2 separate regions of the Homo sapiens genome follow, and region 1 is linked to region 2. Evidence: promoter capture Hi-C in 16 types of primary human blood cells and fetal thymus (Javierre and others, 2016). All regions are on one chromosome and are shown on one strand. The core of a region is centred on a gene start or on the middle of the fragment in contact, and the rest is flanking DNA. Distances in the headings are between cores, read along the strand shown.

Region 1 (4,264 bases), core at 1,315-3,814, 520 kb before region 2:
TTAATTCTATGAAGAACAGGGATATTGTTTTCTCCAGTTGGCTGCACCGTTGTACATTCCCACCAGGAATGTACTGGTGCACCAGGGTTCCAGTTTCCCCACATTCTTGTCAGCACTTGTTATTTCCTGTTTGTTTGACAGCAGCTACCATCCTGATGGATGTGAAGGGCTACCACATTGTCGCTGTGATGTACATTTCCCCGATGACAGTGACGTTGAGCATCTTTCCATGTGCTTCTTGGCCATCTGTATGTCCTCTTCAGTTTTTGTTTTGTTTTAAACTTGCACTCAGATGGATAGTTATATGTGTGACCTAAGGAGAACCACTCAGTGATGAAGAATAAACGTGGCAACACCAGCTAGCATAGCTTAGCAGCATCTGTTATCTGCCTGAGGGCGGTGAATTCCCAGTGAGATGCTCATTCTAGTACTGTCCTAGAATGAAATGAGTCTCAGCTGGCATGTTCCTCGCTCTCCTTCTCGGTGCCCATCTTTTTCTTAGTTGAAATGATCTGTGATTCTGGATGCAGCCCGTGTTGTTCTGGGACGTCTCTGTATTGCACTAAATTAATAAAGGAGCTTTCATTTTTGCAGTTATGTATTTTGAATTCCCTATTCTCTCTTCATCCTGAATGACTGAGACTTGATTAGACATCGGCACAGCGCACCTGACATGGCGCTGACATGGAAATGCAATGGGTGGCAGCTCGGGGTGCAGACCCCACCCAGGATGCTGTGCCCGAGGGGAGCCAGGGCTTCCCTTTGAAATGGCAAAGGTTCCCACCATCCCTCCAGCCCCCGATGGCAGATCCCTTCTCACTTCTTCCTCACTGGAGCTGTGACTCCTTCCGGTGTTTTCCTTGGGTTGATGAAACAGAAACTCTCCTGGGGCCTTTTTTATTTTATTTTTTAATTTTATTTGTGGTAAGAACATCTAACATGAGACCCACCCTCTTAACAGGTTTTTTCAGTGTACAGCACAGTATCGTGAACTATAGACACAATGTGTGCAGCAGAGTTCCAGAGCTTATTCATCTCGCCTGCCTGAAAGCTGATGCTAGTTGACGAGCAACTCCCCATGTCTCCCTCCCTCTACCCCCGGCAACCATCAGCCCACTCTTTGATTTTCTGAATTTGCCTATTTTTACATGCCTCATGTAAGTGGAATCATGTAGTATTTGTCCTTCTGTGACTGGCTTATTTCACTTAACATAATTCCTCCAAGTTCATCCACGTGTCGTACGTGTCAGAATTTCATTCGTTCTTAAGCGGAATCATATTCTATTGTATTTTTCACTGTGTTTCGTGTGTCCCTTCACCTATCAGTGGACCTCTGCGTTGTTTCCATATCTTGGCTGTTGTGGATAACACTGCAGTGAACGTGGGAGCGCTCACGTCAAGTGCTTTGAGATCCTAATTTCAATTCTTTTGGATAAGTACCTGGAAGTAGAATCACTGGATCATATGGCAGTTCTAGTTTTAGTTTTTTGAGGAACTGCCATACTGTTTTCCATAATGGCTGCACCATTTTTGCATCCCTACCAACAGTGTTTAAAGGTTCCAATTTCTCTCCATCCTGGGGACTTTGATACTGAGAACCTAACCTGTCTAGCCTCTTCTGCACTGGCCGCCTTTGCAAGAGCTGGTTGCCTCTCTGAAAACTCTCCTCCCAGGCCTCTTCCCTTCCCCTCACCCACATGGCAGGACAGTCCTACTTCCTTTTCCCTTAAGGGAAGATTCAAATGCTGCTTCTTTGGTGAAGTCTTCCCCAGGCCTCGTCCCTTTCTTTGCATTCCTGTAGCACAGAACCCCATCTGTGTCTTATAGGCACGTGTCTCTTCATCAGACTGTGAGCCCCTTGAGGCCGGTGGTGTGGCTTCATCTCGGCATCTCCCCTGGCATGGTGCTACCTCATCCTCCTTGCTGAATAAGTGAATGAAATGCATTCATTATACACAGCCGCCTTCTGTTTTCCATTATTTGTCATTATTCAGTGTGTTCTGTGAACCAGGAGCTGGGCATGGCTTGTTGAATAAGAACACAGTCCCTAAACTAAGGAGCTTTTAGGCTGGTAACCAAAAAGGGAAATTCTAAATTTTTTTATGATAAGCTTTTAGATATCTTTTTGATATTTAGAATGAAGTAAACACAGTAGATGTAGTCCAATTTTGGAAATCATTTAAGACCTGAGCCTAATTGAGCAGGTAGAAAGCCAGGAAGAACACACCTACTTTGTATTTGCAGTCCTTTCCTCATGCTAATTGATAAGGCGATTAATCCTTACACTATTGCTGAGCCACAACCCCATTTAAAAATAAAAATTAGGAAAGCTGTCTGGATAATTATTAGCAAAGACTTTACAGAGGCTGGGATAAGTCCTCCAGCTGGTTGTTTGCACTGGGAGTTTTACAGTGTACTTGACCTTTGCTTAAGGTAAGGGAGTTTGTTTGGCAAAAACAATGATACATATTTCCATGGCATTGGAATCCTGCTGGATTTCTGAGACTCTGGGAATGCAGATGTGGGCACTGGAGTAAATGTGAGCATTTCATTACAGTGCCTGCCTTGTTTTGGGTTTTTTTTTTTTTTTTTTTTTTTTTTTTGGCTCTGTTTTGGTTTTCTCTTCCAGGCTGTATTGCTAGGTTTACTGCTTTAAAATTGTCTTTATGGTCCAGGCTGCTGCAGCCTTTAGAACAAACCACGACAGTTGGGATCTAGAAGCCTGCGCCTCTCCTAGAGACACCACCTGCATCACAGTGTCGGTGACCTGACCTTTGAAGGGGCCATTTCCCATCTTGGAAATGGGGATACTACTTGATATTCTTATTTATAGGATTTGGTGAGGGCATATGAGGTAACACATCCACAGATGCTCTGAAGGGCTTGAGCGGGATCCTGCACCTTATTACAGGTGGTTGTTGGTATCTTGGGCAGGTTTCAAGACCTGGAGGTTCAAGCCAGCCCATCTCACTGCTGAGCCAATAAGGAGGAAGACAACAGGGTTACAACAAAGCTTCAGGCTTAGGAAGAAATGTTTCACGTGGATGGTGTCCTGGCCAGCGGGTTTGGTTCTAAAATAAACACTACTGTCTCTGGGGCTGAAGATTTGCCCAGGACAATGAAGCAGCCAGCGGGAGGGTAGTGCAGAGCCGGTAAGTTTAGGGTCAGCTTTATTTTCACAGGCAAATGAGGAAGTGAGAGGCTGCTAAAATCACTCCTCTGAGGCTTCCCCTGCCCCTTGGATGAGGTCGCTGCCATCTCTGAGATGGGGGTGTGGCCTGTTACCCTTGTAGGCACCGAGGGTGGATCTAAGACACTGTTTTACCATCCAATCCTGTCAGCGGTTCCATGGCCCACCGGTTTCCTTTTGAATGTTTCCAGGAGCCAGAAGTCCAGATCCCAAGGGCTGGCACGCAGAAGGAGGGCCCTCCCGAGAGAGCACGCGTGCTTCGATTTCTTTCGTGATTATGAGATGTTTCTGATGTCACGTGTATCTGCTACCCGGACTCGGAAACAAGCCTCATTAATAAGTCCCACCCTCCCGCCTCCACCCACCCCCGCCTCCTCCCGCCTCCTCCCCCTCCCGCGCCCCCCGCCTCCTCCCCCTCCCCTGTCCACAAGTCTCCCCACCCCGTTTGCTGTTTTTCATCCTCATGAGTTTCGTTAGGTTTTCCCACATCTAGAACACTGCGTTGTACAGTTTTGCCTTTAAAAAAAAACTTCCTACAAATGCTGTCGTACTGTGTTTGTTTTTCTGAACTTCCTTCTTTTTTTAATACCTCAGCGTTATATCCAGTGGCTCCTCCGTGTCGATGCGGAGACAGGGAATGAGTGAGAGCGACGCCGGCTTTGAGAGCTGGGGTTTGTGCAGGGCTGAGTGAGACCTTGGGCTCCCGTGGCCCAGAACTTAAGAAATAGCAAATGAGAATAGTAGATGAGCCAGAAATTGAGAGTAAATTTGGGAAGGCACAGAAAGGACTGACCAGGCATCAAGTGGCCTAGCTCTGGAGCCTGGGAGTGGGGCTGATACAGGGAGCGGGGCGGGAGGGCCCAGACCTAGCCCAGACTCATGAGAACGGTAACCTTGTTATGACCTTGGCCTTCACACAATAACTTCCCTCTGCCCAGCAACGTCCTGTTCTCTTATACACATGGTAAGAGGGAAAATATCTATCTATAAATACATTTATATTTCTAAGAGATCATCATGGAGATTTTTTTTCTCGACCCAGGGAGGGTTGCTTTGTTGCATAGAACAGGGTGT
Region 2 (3,817 bases), core at 542-3,041:
AGGGAACACCAAGAGTGCTGCCAGGTTCACATTTGATAATGAGATGAGTATGTGTAGAAGGAAGCCAGATGCTATTTATCAAGACAATGGAAGAATGAACCCAAAGGCATTTCTGAGGTTACTGGTTCTGGATTCTCATCCCTGTCCCAGAGTGCCAGGACCCTGAGGGCAGAATAGTTTTAAGGGAGGACTCAGGACACCATGGAACCTTGGGGCTTGCTGCCTAGGGCTGCCTCAAGTCTCTGCCCCCCCACCCCCCACATTCTGGTGCAGCACTCTTTGGCCACCATCCCACGTGTGGCTTATGCAGGCCCTTGTCAGGCCACCCTTCCTGTAAGCCTTGGCAGAGTCCACGTGATGCTAACTCTGCAGGTGCACAGAGTGCATGAACTGTGGAGACACAGCCACCTCCACCTAGATTTTGAAGGATGTGTTGGGGACCCTGGGGGCCCAGTCTGAGAATTGTCACTGAGGTGAGGCTGCTGCAGAAAACCCTCACTAGGGCAATGTTTAGTGGAGCAGTGGGATTGGGGCCACTGCAGAGAGCCCCAAATAGAGTAATATCTAGTGGAGCTGTGGGAACAGGGCTGTCCCTGAGAACCCAGAACTGTCCAGCCACCAGCATGCAAGTCTATCCTGGGAGAGCCTAGACCTCAACCTGTGAGAGCTGCTGCATGGGTTGCACCTGGCAAATCCATGGGAGTGGATCCCCTGGACACTAGGGGACCCAGTCTCCACCCCCCTGTGCTCGGAATGGGGGACACAGCATCAAAGAAGATTATTCTGAAGCCCCAAGATTTAATGCTGTTTGCCTTGTTGGGTTTGGACTTACTTGGGACCAGATACTCCTTTCTTCTTGCCTGCTTCTCCCTTTGGGAATGGGAATGTACGTCCTATGCCTGTCTCATCACTGTATTTTGAAGGCCTGTAACCTATTTGATTTCACGGGCTCATAGCTGGAGGGGAATTTCACTTAGGATGAATTGTACTTTGAATCTTATGCCTTTCTAATTTAGAAGATATTTAGGTGAGACTTTGGACTTACATTTTAAAGTTGATACTGGAACTTTGGAGGCCACTGGGATACAATGCATGCATTTTGCATGTGAGAGGGGTATGAATTTGGAGGGCAGGGGCAGAATGCTATGCTTTGAATGTCTGTGTTCCCTGCAAAATTCATGCTGAAACAATCCTCAATGCAATACTAACAGGTGGTGCCTTTAGGAGGTGACTGGATTATGAGGGCACCTTCCTCATGAATGGGATTGGCCCCTTATACGAGAGACTTCACATGAGATTTGGCCCCTTTTGCCCTTCCACTTTCCACCATTGAGGACGCAGCAGCAAGCTGTCATCTTGGAAACAGAGAGCAGGTGTTTGGAACTGGTTCTGTTTCATCTGATTCTGGGGGCCCCTCTTTTTCCCTGTGCAAGATCCCCAAATTTGCTTCCTTCTCTCAAAGAAAGCTCCCAATATAGATGGGACTCAAAGGGAGTCATTTGCCCTCTAAGAGGTGTCACAATATGTCGTCTCAGTCATTCACACCTTAGTAAGAAAAAGCTTTTCAGGTCCTTGCCAGAGATTCGGGGAAAGGCTTTGAACTGAGAAAGAAGCCGCGCCCCTGAGGAGGGCGCTGCCCGGAAGCCACGCTCACTTCTGCTTGCACTTAGGCGACCTCGGGAGCTCGGACTCCTACGCAGTCACCGGGAAGGGCCGCCGCCCCGCCCGCGGCTGCTGGCCCGGGTGACGCTTCCGCCTGCTATAAGAGCAGCGGCCCTCGGTGCCTCCTTCCTGACCTCGCACCCAGCTCGGAGCCCGGAGCGTGCCTCGGCGGCCTGTCGGGTAAGGCCGGGCCTCGGAGCGGTGGCGCGGGGGCGGGCGCGGGGAGAGGCCAGGCTCCCTCGCTCAGCTTCCAGCCCGGCACCCCCCACCCCCCAGGCTCAGGCCCCTCAGACCCGCAGCTCCCTGCGCTCGCCCTCCCCGCCAGCTTCGCGCCCCCATCCCTTCCGGGCGCCCCGACGGAGACAGACGACCTCTGATCCCCCGCCCCCGCCTGGGTACAGGCCGGGCCAGCCCGCGAGGGAGGGAGGGAGGGAGGACGACAGATGCAGGCGGAAGGCAAGACTGAAACCTGAGATCAGAATGTTGTCCCTTCTCCCTGAATTCCCTTCCTCCCAGAGCTGTTTGTGACGGTTTCCAGGCAGCCCAGGGCCAGGCCGCGGCTCCTATCTGCAGCTGCAGGGAGAGAGAGGAGGAACCCCGTGCGATTCTAGAGACGATTTCACAACAAGGAGAAATCAGCTTTGTGCTTACATGCCGAGCAGCCAGCACGGTTCTTCTTTGCCTGTCCTCGGGGGAAATCAGGGCTCTGAGAGTGGAGATCGAGATGGGCTAGTGGGTGGCGGATGGGACGCTGCACGGCCAGACCCTGGACTGTGGTGGGTTTCCAAACTGGCACATCCTACACCGGCTCTGAGACTGTGGGCACTGGACCTCATACCTTTTGAACCTCAAAAATAAGGAAGAATTATATTATTATAATAATTACAGTGATACCTTTGCTGGAGTTTTAATGCATAGTAGGTAGCTGAGTCTCTGATAGAAGGCTCTTAGTTCAGGTGAAGGTAGGCAATGGATTCATTGCCCAATGAATCAGAGACTTGAATCAAAGGCTCAGAAGCACGTGCGCTCCCACACATAGGTTGGGAAGACCCAGGGCTGGGTGGGCCCTCCCACCCCACTAAAGCTGGGGTAGCTGGGGCCTGCCTTACCCCCGCCCCACCCCCAGACTCACCTGTCTGCAAGGTCAGAGCCCTTTAGGGCACCCTGGGTGCCCTAAAATCCCCTATAACTGCTGAGTCCTTGGCCAGAATGGTCCCACATTTGTGGGCCTGGGAAAGTGTTCTTGCCCTGCTGGAATAAAAAAGCGGGGAGAAAGTACAAGATCCAGGATGCCTCAGGGCGGTTGGCAGAAATTGAGGAAGCTTCTGGAGAAATAGTGCTGCCTAATCTGCTGGCGTGGGCAGTGGGCACCATGAGGACCCTGTTCTGTGTTGCAGTTTTCACCATGGAGCAGCTGAGCTCAGCAAACACCCGCTTCGCCTTGGACCTGTTCCTGGCGTTGAGTGAGAACAATCCGGCTGGAAACATCTTCATCTCTCCCTTCAGCATTTCATCTGCTATGGCCATGGTTTTTCTGGGGACCAGAGGTAACACGGCAGCACAGCTGTCCAAGGTCAGCAGAAACAAAAAAAAGGGTCTGCTTTCCTCCCATCTCCCTACGAATGGACAGTCTGCATGGAAAGGTTGTGCCTTTGAGCTCTTACCTTGTGTTTTCAGAACTGTATTTTTATGAGATCAGACTTTCAGAAAAGTCACACTTGTATGCAGGCTTCCATTCATCATCAGGTTTTTCCTAAGTACCTACCACGTACCAGGAACTGTTTTTCGTATTGCTGAGGAGACAGCAGTGAGCAAAGCTGACAAAAATCCCTGCAGGGCGAGGCTTCTGTTCCAGTGGATGAATCTGACAGCTTTCCTGAAAGGCATACTACATCCTCCTGAGCTAGCATCTTCCAGTTTTTGCTTTGCATATGATGATATGCAACTCATAAATATTGCCTGTTATATAACACTACTTTCAAGCATAATGAGAGGAATAAGACATAGGGAATGCATTATAGTGGAGATAGTGGCATTGCTTTTTTGCAAGGAAAAGAGAAAAAGTGACCCTGTGGTTCTGTAGTCCCAGGGTGCTGCGCATGGCTCAGTGGGCTGTGGCATAGCACGCCCTGCAGGGGAGGTGAGGGGGAGACCC

The links. Contacts are between HindIII fragments. The CHiCAGO score rates a contact against its expected background, and 5 or more counts as called.
Region 1: a contact is called between a fragment that was not itself captured here and the fragment with the promoter of SERPINB1 in region 2, in 1 of 17 cell types (activated CD4 T cells). The highest score is 5.0, in activated CD4 T cells.

Annotation. Positions count from the first base shown.
Region 1 is chr6:3,355,396-3,359,659 of GRCh38, reverse strand. The region is part of intron 3 of SLC22A23 (solute carrier family 22 member 23); the gene reads left to right. Among named protein-coding and RNA genes, the nearest start is that of PSMG4, 99 kb to the right of the region's middle. RefSeq lists an enhancer at 2,627-3,517. The HindIII fragment of the contact is 903 bases long and covers 2,113-3,015 here.
Region 2 is chr6:2,839,837-2,843,653 of GRCh38, reverse strand. SERPINB1 (serpin family B member 1) reads left to right here and starts at 1,791. Exons shown (of 7, transcript NM_030666.4): 1 at 1,791-1,842; 2 at 3,060-3,235. The coding sequence starts at 3,068. RefSeq lists a silencer at 1,847-1,896. The HindIII fragment of the contact is 1,424 bases long and covers 1,563-2,986 here.